3 separate regions of the Homo sapiens genome follow, and all the other regions are linked to region 3. Evidence: promoter capture Hi-C in 16 types of primary human blood cells and fetal thymus (Javierre and others, 2016). All regions are on one chromosome and are shown on one strand. Each heading gives the region's core, a stretch centred on a gene start or on the middle of the fragment in contact. The rest is flanking DNA. Distances are from core to core; before and after follow the strand shown.

Evidence for each region. Contacts are between HindIII fragments. The CHiCAGO score rates a contact against its expected background, and 5 or more counts as called.
Region 1: a fragment that was not itself captured here is called in contact with the fragment with the promoter of KIRREL1 in region 3 in 1 of 17 cell types (endothelial precursors); the score reaches 9.0 in endothelial precursors.
Region 2: a fragment that was not itself captured here is called in contact with the fragment with the promoter of KIRREL1 in region 3 in 3 of 17 cell types (endothelial precursors, megakaryocytes and fetal thymus); the score reaches 12.1 in endothelial precursors.

Annotation. Positions count from the first base shown.
Region 1 is chr1:158,073,129-158,076,217 of GRCh38, reverse strand. KIRREL1 (kirre like nephrin family adhesion molecule 1) reads right to left here. Exons shown (of 15, transcript NM_018240.7): 2 at 1-105. Among named protein-coding and RNA genes, the nearest start is that of KIRREL1-IT1, 49 kb to the right of the region's middle. The HindIII fragment of the contact is 1,979 bases long and covers 702-2,680 here.
Region 2 is chr1:158,095,763-158,098,629 of GRCh38, reverse strand. It overlaps KIRREL1 (kirre like nephrin family adhesion molecule 1), which reads right to left. Exons shown (of 15, transcript NM_018240.7): 15 at 1-2,867. Among named protein-coding and RNA genes, the nearest start is that of SMIM42, 31 kb to the left of the region's middle. The HindIII fragment of the contact is 1,657 bases long and covers 544-2,200 here.
Region 3 is chr1:157,991,996-157,995,061 of GRCh38, reverse strand. KIRREL1 (kirre like nephrin family adhesion molecule 1) reads right to left here and starts at 1,417. Exons shown (of 15, transcript NM_018240.7): 1 at 1,334-1,417. The coding sequence starts at 1,385. The HindIII fragment of the contact is 5,747 bases long and covers 1-3,066 here.

The sequences.
Region 1 (3,089 bases), core at 442-2,941, 81 kb before region 3:
ATTGCACAATTCCAGAGTAGTTGAGCAGCACACAGGGGAGCACGGCCCGCTGTCCAGCCACCACCGTCTGGTCAGCTGGCTCCTGGCTGAAGCGGGTCTGGGTCCCTGCAAAGCCAAAGCCAGCACTGGGTAAGATGAGTAAGGAGAGGGGCTCCTCTAAGAGGTCCCCCTCACCATGCAGCTGGAAGGAGGGAGAGCCTCCAGTTGGGGATGGGGACTCTCCGGTCCCTGCCCCCCTTCAGCCTCAACCCCTTTGTTTCAAGATGCCACGTCCTTACCCTTTATTCCTTCCTCCCTCTGAGACCCATGGGAATGGATTTCAGGAGCTGAAGTGCTCAGCAATCACAGAAAATAGTGCACTGTTACAGAAGGGCCTTAAAAATGGGTCTAGTCCAACCCTCTCATTTTACAGAGGAGGACCCTGACTTCCAGGGAGGACAGTAACTTACTCAAGGGCAAGTTAATGGCAGAGCTGGGATTAGAACCTGAGCCCCTGCATCCAGGTCCTAGCTGTTCCTCTACTACCCATTGCCCCAGCCCACCCCCACATTAATGACTCCTACTTAGACGCGTGTCATGTGAGCTGATGGGAGTCAATGTGAACCAACACTCATGTGCAACTATGCCAGGTACAATTCCTCCACGAATACATCAGGGTAGATACTATAAAGCCAGCATGTCCACATGTGTGTATAGAAGCTTCCTGGGTGGAAAGTGTATCCAAAACAAAGTAGCTCTGAACCCACTTCTTGGCACATGTGCCCTGCTCTGTGTGTTCATCCTTCGCTCCCAAGTGCAGGGGGGCCTAAGTGTGTACACATGAACACACCTGCACACACCCCGCCTCCTTCACTGTGGGAGCTGAGAGGCCACGTGACTTTGTTCCACTCTCCCTCCGGCTGTGGGAGCTACACATGGCTGCCCGGCTGGCAGCTCGGCCGGGAGCATTTGATTAGAGAACTGCAGAGTAATTGCCTTTAATTGTGGAGCCTAAATGGAGCAGGGAATTGCATTGCGGGTTTTTTCTCCCCCACCACTCCCACCCACTGGCTCCAACCAGCACTGGTCGGCCCCAGTGGTGGGGCAGGCCTAGGCTCCTTGCAGAGCTATGTGAGCTATGGGGCTCAGGTTCCTTTGCCAAGTTGTGGGGAAAGGAGAAGGGGGACAAGGGAGTGACTGAAGGACAGCAAAGGAGAGTTCTGGGACTTCCTTGCCATGCTCCCAACCTGTCATACCAGGTAACTGAAATCGGCTCTCCCCAAAAGTCACGGCCTCCTCCTTCTTCTTTCCCTCCACAGCTCATGAATCTGCAGAGGCCACAATCCCCAAATCTGACCTTTTCCTAACAGAGCTTTCTAAAATTTATCTGCCCCATCATCACTCCTGTGTGTAAGCAAACTTAACTCACCCCTCGCCACTCCAAGATGTCCCTCTAAGCCACCACAGAAGTGGGATCCTAGTCTCATCCCCTTCCTTCCTTTCTCTTCACCAGCCCCATTTCTCCTTTTTTCCTCAAACCTGCTCTACATGTCCCTCTTCCAGGAAGCCCTCCTAGCCCAATTCCTTGGCCTCTTGGGCAAATATAACCGGTCGCGTCACTCGGCCCTGCTGTTATCACTATGTACGGGGTTTCCTCTCTCAAATGATCAGGGGTAATGTCCATGATTTTGTTTGTCACAGGGTAGAGGGCAACTAGTAGGTGAGGACATTTGCCCTATCTGTTCCAGCAGAATGCCAACATCTCCTCTAAGGCAGAGGGCCAAGCTCTCTCCCCCATCTGAATCTCCTGAACATCCGACATCCATCCCCACTGGTTGTTGCACACAAAGGGGTCTGAAAAAGAGGTAGCTGGGGCCTAGAGTGGACTGATAACCAGAATGTGATCTAGCATGAGGCAGACTCTTTACTCTTGATTAAGTGTGCAAATTTAGGTCTTTGGGTCTGCAGGGGCCAGGAAGTTAGAAACAGGCTCCCTCTCCCATACTCCATGAGTGGCTCCTCAAGTCTGCTGACCTGACCTTTCATTCATGTCTTCTAAAGGATAATCCCTTTTGAGTGATCAGGGTGGCAGGTGCTGAGATCCTGGGGGAGGGGTGGGTCAGGTGAGCAGCCAACATTATTAATTCAAGCATTGTCCTCATTATTATTCAAATTTATTCATATCCTTGCGCATTTCTCTAGTGCAGCTATATGCTGCAAACTCTCCACACTCACGTTTCTCCTTCCCATGGCCCCTGGAGCCCAAGTCAAGGGCTTAAGAGTGGGCTTGCTGGTGAGCCCTGGCTCAGAGGTGGAATTTATACGCATGGCTTTCCTGCATGGAGCCTGGACACCCTGGTCTCTCGCTGAAGTCTCTCAAGGACAGTGAGCAGCTGGCTCCTTGTCCACTTGGAATGAAGAAGCAGCTGACCCTGCGGCAAGATGGAGATGGGAAGCACTTGAAGTAAGAATCAGGAAACGGGGGTCTTGTGGAGATGAGGAGTGGTGTGACCTTGGGTGTGTCAATTCCTCATATGGGCCCCCATTTGCTCACCTGTACAATGACAAGCCTGGACTGAGGAACGCCAAATCCCTCTGTGCCCAAATACTAAGAGGACAGGTTTAGGAGACAGACTGTGGTTTATATATTGCCTGTGTGGCTTTCTCACCCAGTGACCTTGGCCAAGTTATTTGCTAAGCTTCATTTTCCTGCCTGGTAAACTGGGGAATGTTAATGTCTATTTCTGGATTGCTGTCAAAGTAAAATGAGATGAGGTGTATGCTATGCGTGGTACAGTCCCTTGCCTGTATGCACTAAATGGCAGCTATGATCATTATTTCTCCTGAACAGTTAGACAATTAGAGGGACAACTGGAAACCTGAATAGGAACATGACAAAGAAGGTGGTATCTGACTTTCTGGCAGTTTTGAAGTTTCCTCTTGATTTAGGCCTGACTGAAGCAATTCAGTCCAGACACAGGGGCATGGAAGTAATAACCTTGCAGAGAGTCCAGAAAGGAGGGGAAGTAAAGACATCTCGGGAATTTAATTGGATGGAAAGGCAGCCTAGACCCTGGGCCTACTAAAGCCACTGGCAATGTTTTCTGGTC
Region 2 (2,867 bases), core at 123-2,622, 100 kb before region 3:
GGGCGGGTCCTTCACGAGGGAAGTGACCGTGGCTCAGCCAAAATCACAAGATCCTCCTCAAGATCCAGAATGTATTCCAAAGCTGTTGTACCCCTTTCCCTCCACCGGCTCCCCTTGCAAGCTGCTCCTTCTCAGGCAGGGGCAGCTGTGCTTACTCCCCGACCTCTGGCTCCAGGCACCTTGGACTGCAGGCTTCACCTGTTTGGTGAGAAGAACAAGCTGTCCCTGGGCCAGAGGAATGTTCCTAAGGATCAGGGTGGAGGAAGGCTCCTCCCATTTTCCCCTACAGAAGGAGTGCCTGAAACCTAGGCACATAACAATATCCCTATGTGCATACTATGTCCTGCCCTGGCAAAAGGCACCTTTGCAAACCCATCAGAAATGAGTGGGGAGCAGCACAGATGACCCGATAGCCAAAGGATAGCCCCACATCAATTTTACTCTGAGGTTTAGGGTGTATTTTGTGTTGCTGTTTGGGATAAAGGGGTCCCTGGTGGAAACTAATTCACTTCTGACAAGATAATGAAGCCCATGGTGAAAGCTTCTTTGAACAGGAGAGAACCCCCCCAGCCAGCTCTCCAGCCCTCACCATGCTTGCTACTGTTCCCAGTTCCTTGCCAGCAATGGGCAGTCCCATCCCTACCCCCAACCCTATGGGTATAACAAAACCAGAATAGTTTTAGGTTTATGCAACCCTCCCCCTTCATTTTACAGGCCAGACAAATTGGGGGCAATGAACAGAAAGTTAGGCCGAGATCTAACCTTTGCAGCTTCAGGACTGGGTCCTGGGTCTCCTGACCTTTAGTCCCTTGCTCTTTCCACTAAAACAAGCCACCAAAGGTGATCAGGATCACCAACTACTGAGGCATCACCATGTTGCAGGACTCCAGGATTCGACAGCAAAGCTCTGTGATCAAGGACGCCTTCCACTCCCCAGAAAAGCTATTCCACTGGGCCCATCAGGTAGGTTCCAATTCAGATTCTGATGCACCAACACGTAAGTTACAGAGGGCAGAGACTACCTTGGTTGCTGATGCTTCCCTGTGCCTTCCAGGGTGCTTGTTTGACACCCAAGAGGCTCCAGTTACCTTGTTAAGGAGTAGAGGACAGTGAAGTAGCTCTGTGTCAGGCTTCTGGAAACTAGGCTTCCTTTCTCAACAATTCTCCCTGCACCATCAGCTCAATTACCTAGTAACCTTAGGCCCTCTCTCCATCATTTCAGTAGAATGAAACTAATACTTAAGCTAAAAGGGGATAAATAAGAGAATCTAGCCAAACCCAAAACAAAAATGAATTCTTTTTGGAATATGCATGTTTTAAAAGCCACCATCTTTAGACTTCAAGTCTTTGGATTCCCCCATGGTTTCTGGTTTTTGTGAAAATAATAGAAATTTGCATGAATTTGTCTGTACAAGAACCTGAATTTCTTGACAGACCTTCCCACTGAGCTCTCATAAAAGGACTCTATAGAAAGGTATCAGCTTCCAGGGATGGAATACAGCTGGAAGCCTGTAAATGCCCCAGATAGGGCCCACTCCACAGGAGTTTTCCCTGCTGAAATGAAGGAGGATGCACAGACTTCCTGTGAAGTTAAAATTAGAGCTACTTGCTTCCTGGGTATTATCTGGTCCTTCCTACAAGGGGTTGGCCAGGAATGTCGCCCCCCAGACCCATCCATAAGGGTGGTAATGGCCTGTGGCTGATAAGCATGTAACTCATTAAAGCGAACATGAATTATGAATGGTGACCACGGAGAAAGGGCGAGGAACATTTTGGGAACTGCACCAGAGGCCCTGTCTCCCACTGGGCTGGACATGCAGCTGGGGAGGCGGGAAACAGCCAACTCCAGACACTGCTTTTTAGGAAGGCGAGGCTGGGGCAGGGGTACAGGTTCTCCTTGGAGCGCCTGTTCTCTTTGGTCAGAAAGTGGTGGCTGAGAAGCAGTCACATGGAAGGTGTGTGTTGGATGTGCGTGCACATGGAGGAGGAGAAATGGCCTGTGTAATGCCTGCGGTGCCCTTCCGCACCACCTTCTCCCGGTCAGCACAAGTTCTCTGTCAGGGCCATTTCCAGGCCCCTTACCTCTCCAGGTCCCCTCACCCATCTCTCTCCTAACACTGTAACACTTAACAGTGTGTCCGAGGCTCACAAGTACCCACTCCCCACACAACCGCCCACATAGGGTCGGTCATCCAAAGCTTGACACTCAAGGCACTGAAAGTGGAAGAAGGAATCTGATTGGTCCAAGAAAAAAAAAAAAGACACTTAAAAACCAAAACCTGTCTCCCATACCCCCTGGAAGGTGGCCTCCAACCAACTGATGGGACATAGGAGAGTAGAGACTGAGAGCCAGGCCCCCTCCGTAACCCTATCAGAGTCCACTGTGTGACAGGTCTGGCAACCTGAATGTTTAAAAATGGATTCAAAGTGCTTGGAGACTGAAAGAGTAATGGAGGGTGTTAGGAACCCCATGGAGAAGAATAGGTACTACCTTTCCTTTCCACTGGGACTTGTATTTGGGTGGGGGAATCCCTACAGCTTTTCTTCCCAAATGAGGTTTTCATTGTTTTTTGTTTTCTTTGAAAAAGAGCCTACAGCACCCCCACCCCTACCTCACCACTCCCCAAACCAGCTCAAGAGTTAAAGCCAGGAAGTGGGGCAGACTGGGGAGAGGAGGCTTGTGTGGCTCCCTCTAGTGTTGGTTCACTGCTGTGCAGCACACAGCAGTATCTGGGTCAATGAGGACATGGTCCTAGCCTTTCTTTCTCCACCAGGACCCTGACTTATCTGGCTGGCCCAGCATGGAGGAGAAGGAAAGCGGGCCGTGCTGCCGGGGGGATTCCTGGATCCCTCTGCATGCTGACAGA
Region 3 (3,066 bases), core at 168-2,667:
CTCCTCCATCTGCAGTCTGTACATCTCCATAGGTGTCTGCCCATATGAATGTCTGTTCAAGTTTCTTTGTTTGCTAGAGGGTTGGTTTCTGTGAGAGCGTGTGTCCTGTCCTTGTAAACGCCTGCATACATGTACTGTGTATAGTTGTAACGTTCGGGTGGATGAATGCGTGAGTGTGTGCCGATCTGGGGGAGGAATCTGTCTTCCTCAGATGTCTCCGTGTCTTTGTGTATATGTGTCTGTCTCAGTGTGGGGGATGTTTGTGGGGATGTCTCTCTCTCAGTAGGTGAGTAGTCTGTCTCAGTGTCTGTGAGTGTTTTACGGTGTTTGTGTGTCAATTTCTGTGTGTCAGCTCCATTTTTGGGGAGGGAAGGAGTTCAGCAGGATTCAGTCTTCCTTAGAGTCAGACCTGGGAGGCAAGAACCAACTCCCACAGACCCCAGTCCCTGCTGCAGTCTGGACCCTTGGTTCCCTCAGCCCTCTTCCCTCCCCCAACCCCAGCCCTGCCCAGGATACACTGACATCCTCATCTCTCCCAACCACCTCCCTCACCTCCCAGCCTCTCCCCTGCCAGTGTCAAATAAGCCCCAGACAGCAACACTTTCCTGAGCCCAAGTAGAGTGTCAGCCCCCTCCCCCCACCGCCTCTGCCCCCGCCCCCGTGAGTTCCCCCCCTCTGTATCAAGCGGGCCTGAAGCTGTATGTGGAACTCCACTCTCCACCCAGAGCCTCCGTGGGCAGGGGTTCCAAATCCCCACTAGAGGCGCCGAGACACCCCTCCCTTCCTCTAGAGGGGGCAGCCCCAGGCAGGCTGGAGCCGTGATTCAGACTCAGACCCCCGAGGGGCTGGGCTGGAGTAGGGGGATCCCCTTGGCAACATCTTCGGGAGGTGGGACCCAGCTTTTCGCTCACCCCCTCGCCCGAAATCCGAAATCCCACCCTCTTCCCAGCCTTGCCCTTAGGCTGGACTCAGGCGTCCGGAACCCCGGCCTCAGAGGGCGAGGGTCGGTAGGGCTGCCAGAAGCTCAAGAGAAAGCGTTCGGTTCCCCGTTTTACTCGGACCTCCAGCCCTCGCGGCCCCATTGCTCGGTTCTCCCGCGCAGCCAGAGGAAACAACTTGGGCAAATCAACGGCAAACTCATTCTCCCCAGCCCCTCGTTACTCCGCGCCCCCTCCCCCAGGGCTCTGCGCCCGGACCGAGCCCCCGCCTCGTGGCGTCCGGACCCGGGGACTGGCCGCGGGCCGCGGGGCACTCCAGCACTCTCCCACCGGGGAAGCAGTGCCCCGGCCCCGGGGGGAAGCCGAGCGTCCGGGGGTGGGCTGGGGGCCCTTACCTTGGGAGAAAGTATCGGAGAGAGTGAGGATCCAGACGAGGAGGCTCAGCATGCTGTCCGCCCGCCGTGCGCCCGCCCGCGGCTGGGGCCCGGAGTTGGCGAGCGAGCCAGAGGAGCGGGCTGGGGAGGAGGGGAGCCCGGGAGCCCGGGAGCCCGCCCCCCGCCCGCCCGCGCCCGCCCCTGCACACACACACGCGCGCGCGCACACTCACGCGCACAAACTCATTTCCCTGCCCTCCGATTCTCTTTATCTCTCTTTCCTCCCAGACCTTTTTCTCCTCCTGGTCGCCCTCCCCCTTTAATTATTTCTCCTCTCAAGCTGTATCTCTCTGGGTCTCTTTCGGTCTTTGCTCCCCCTTTCTCTCCCCTTCTCTTCCTTCCCTCTCTCCCTCCCTGCCTCCCTGCCTGCCTGCCTCCCTCCCTCCGCCTGACGTCTACTCTCCCTCCGACGGCGCCTCCCTCCACGAGCCCTCCCCCTGCCCCCCCACAACGCGCGCACACACATACCCCCCTCGCTGGAACTGAGATGGAAGGAGAGCAAAGAGGGAAAGGAATTGAGGGCAAAGGCAAAAGGGGGTGAAAAATGTGACCGTCGTGGGTTCTGGGGCAGGCACGACGGGACCCCTGGCCACCCCACCCCCTCCTATTTATAGACGCAATCTTGGTCGCGGGCTATGGAACTAAGCAGTGGAGGAGGAACATGGGCTGAGGGACATCAGCCTCTAGCTCAGAGGATGTGATGGGGAGTGTGTGTGTGTGTGTGTGTGTGTGTGTGTTTCCGTGTGTGTGTCTAGGAGTGGGGTGGGGGGCAGGGAGTTAAATAAACATAAAGACCTTTCTTTTTAAATTCCACACCCAAAGTCTAGCCCCTAGATTCCCCAAATTAAGAATTCTCAATTGACTAATGAATGCTTGGATAAGGGAGGGGCATACATGCCTCTCCCCACCTATAAAACCCAGAACTGGAGAATGGGAGCTGCCTCTTGGACCTGCCTTGAGGCCCTGCCTTGGCTTCACCCAGTCAAGGTTGAGCACAGCTAGGCGTTGGAGGACTCAGCGGCCTGGAAGAGGCACAGTTGACCCTTCCTTTGTTCATCTTAGCCTTCCACCCATCCCGAAGGAGAAGGTAGCCAACTGGATGGCTTTGAAGGGCCAAGACCTGGCCTCACCTCCCTGAATGCAAGCCAGAGGAGAAGACAGCCACCAGTCAGATCTCTAAGCACGCTGGAGTTTGAGATCTTTTGGGGTAGGGACATGGAGGAACTAGGAAGGAAGGGAATTCCTGAGAATCATGAGAGCATTCAGGAGGGATCTCCACTTTCTTAAGGGCCCAGTTTGGCAACCAGCTCCTCTTCTCACCCCTGACCAGATACTTCTGCTCACAGGATTGCTCGGGTAGCCAGAGGTCTGGACCCTAGGGAATGGACAGAGAAGTTGCTGGAATTGCACAATTTTACAGTAATGTGTTGGTCCAAAGAGGTCTCCACTTCTTTCCTCCCAGATCCCAGATCTCCTGGGTCTCTAACACTCCCCGCCAAGTTTTCTCAATTTCTGCCCCTGAAAGTAGGTGCGTGGCTCTCTGGTGCCCTCTGTTGATGTGTAGCGGCCACAGCTCCTCTTTCCTCCGCAGATACTAACACCAGCCTGTGGTCCAGACGCATCCACACACAATTAGAAGACAGAGAAAGGCAGGAAAACACCCAAGCTCATATGCAGAAGCCCCATATGCACAG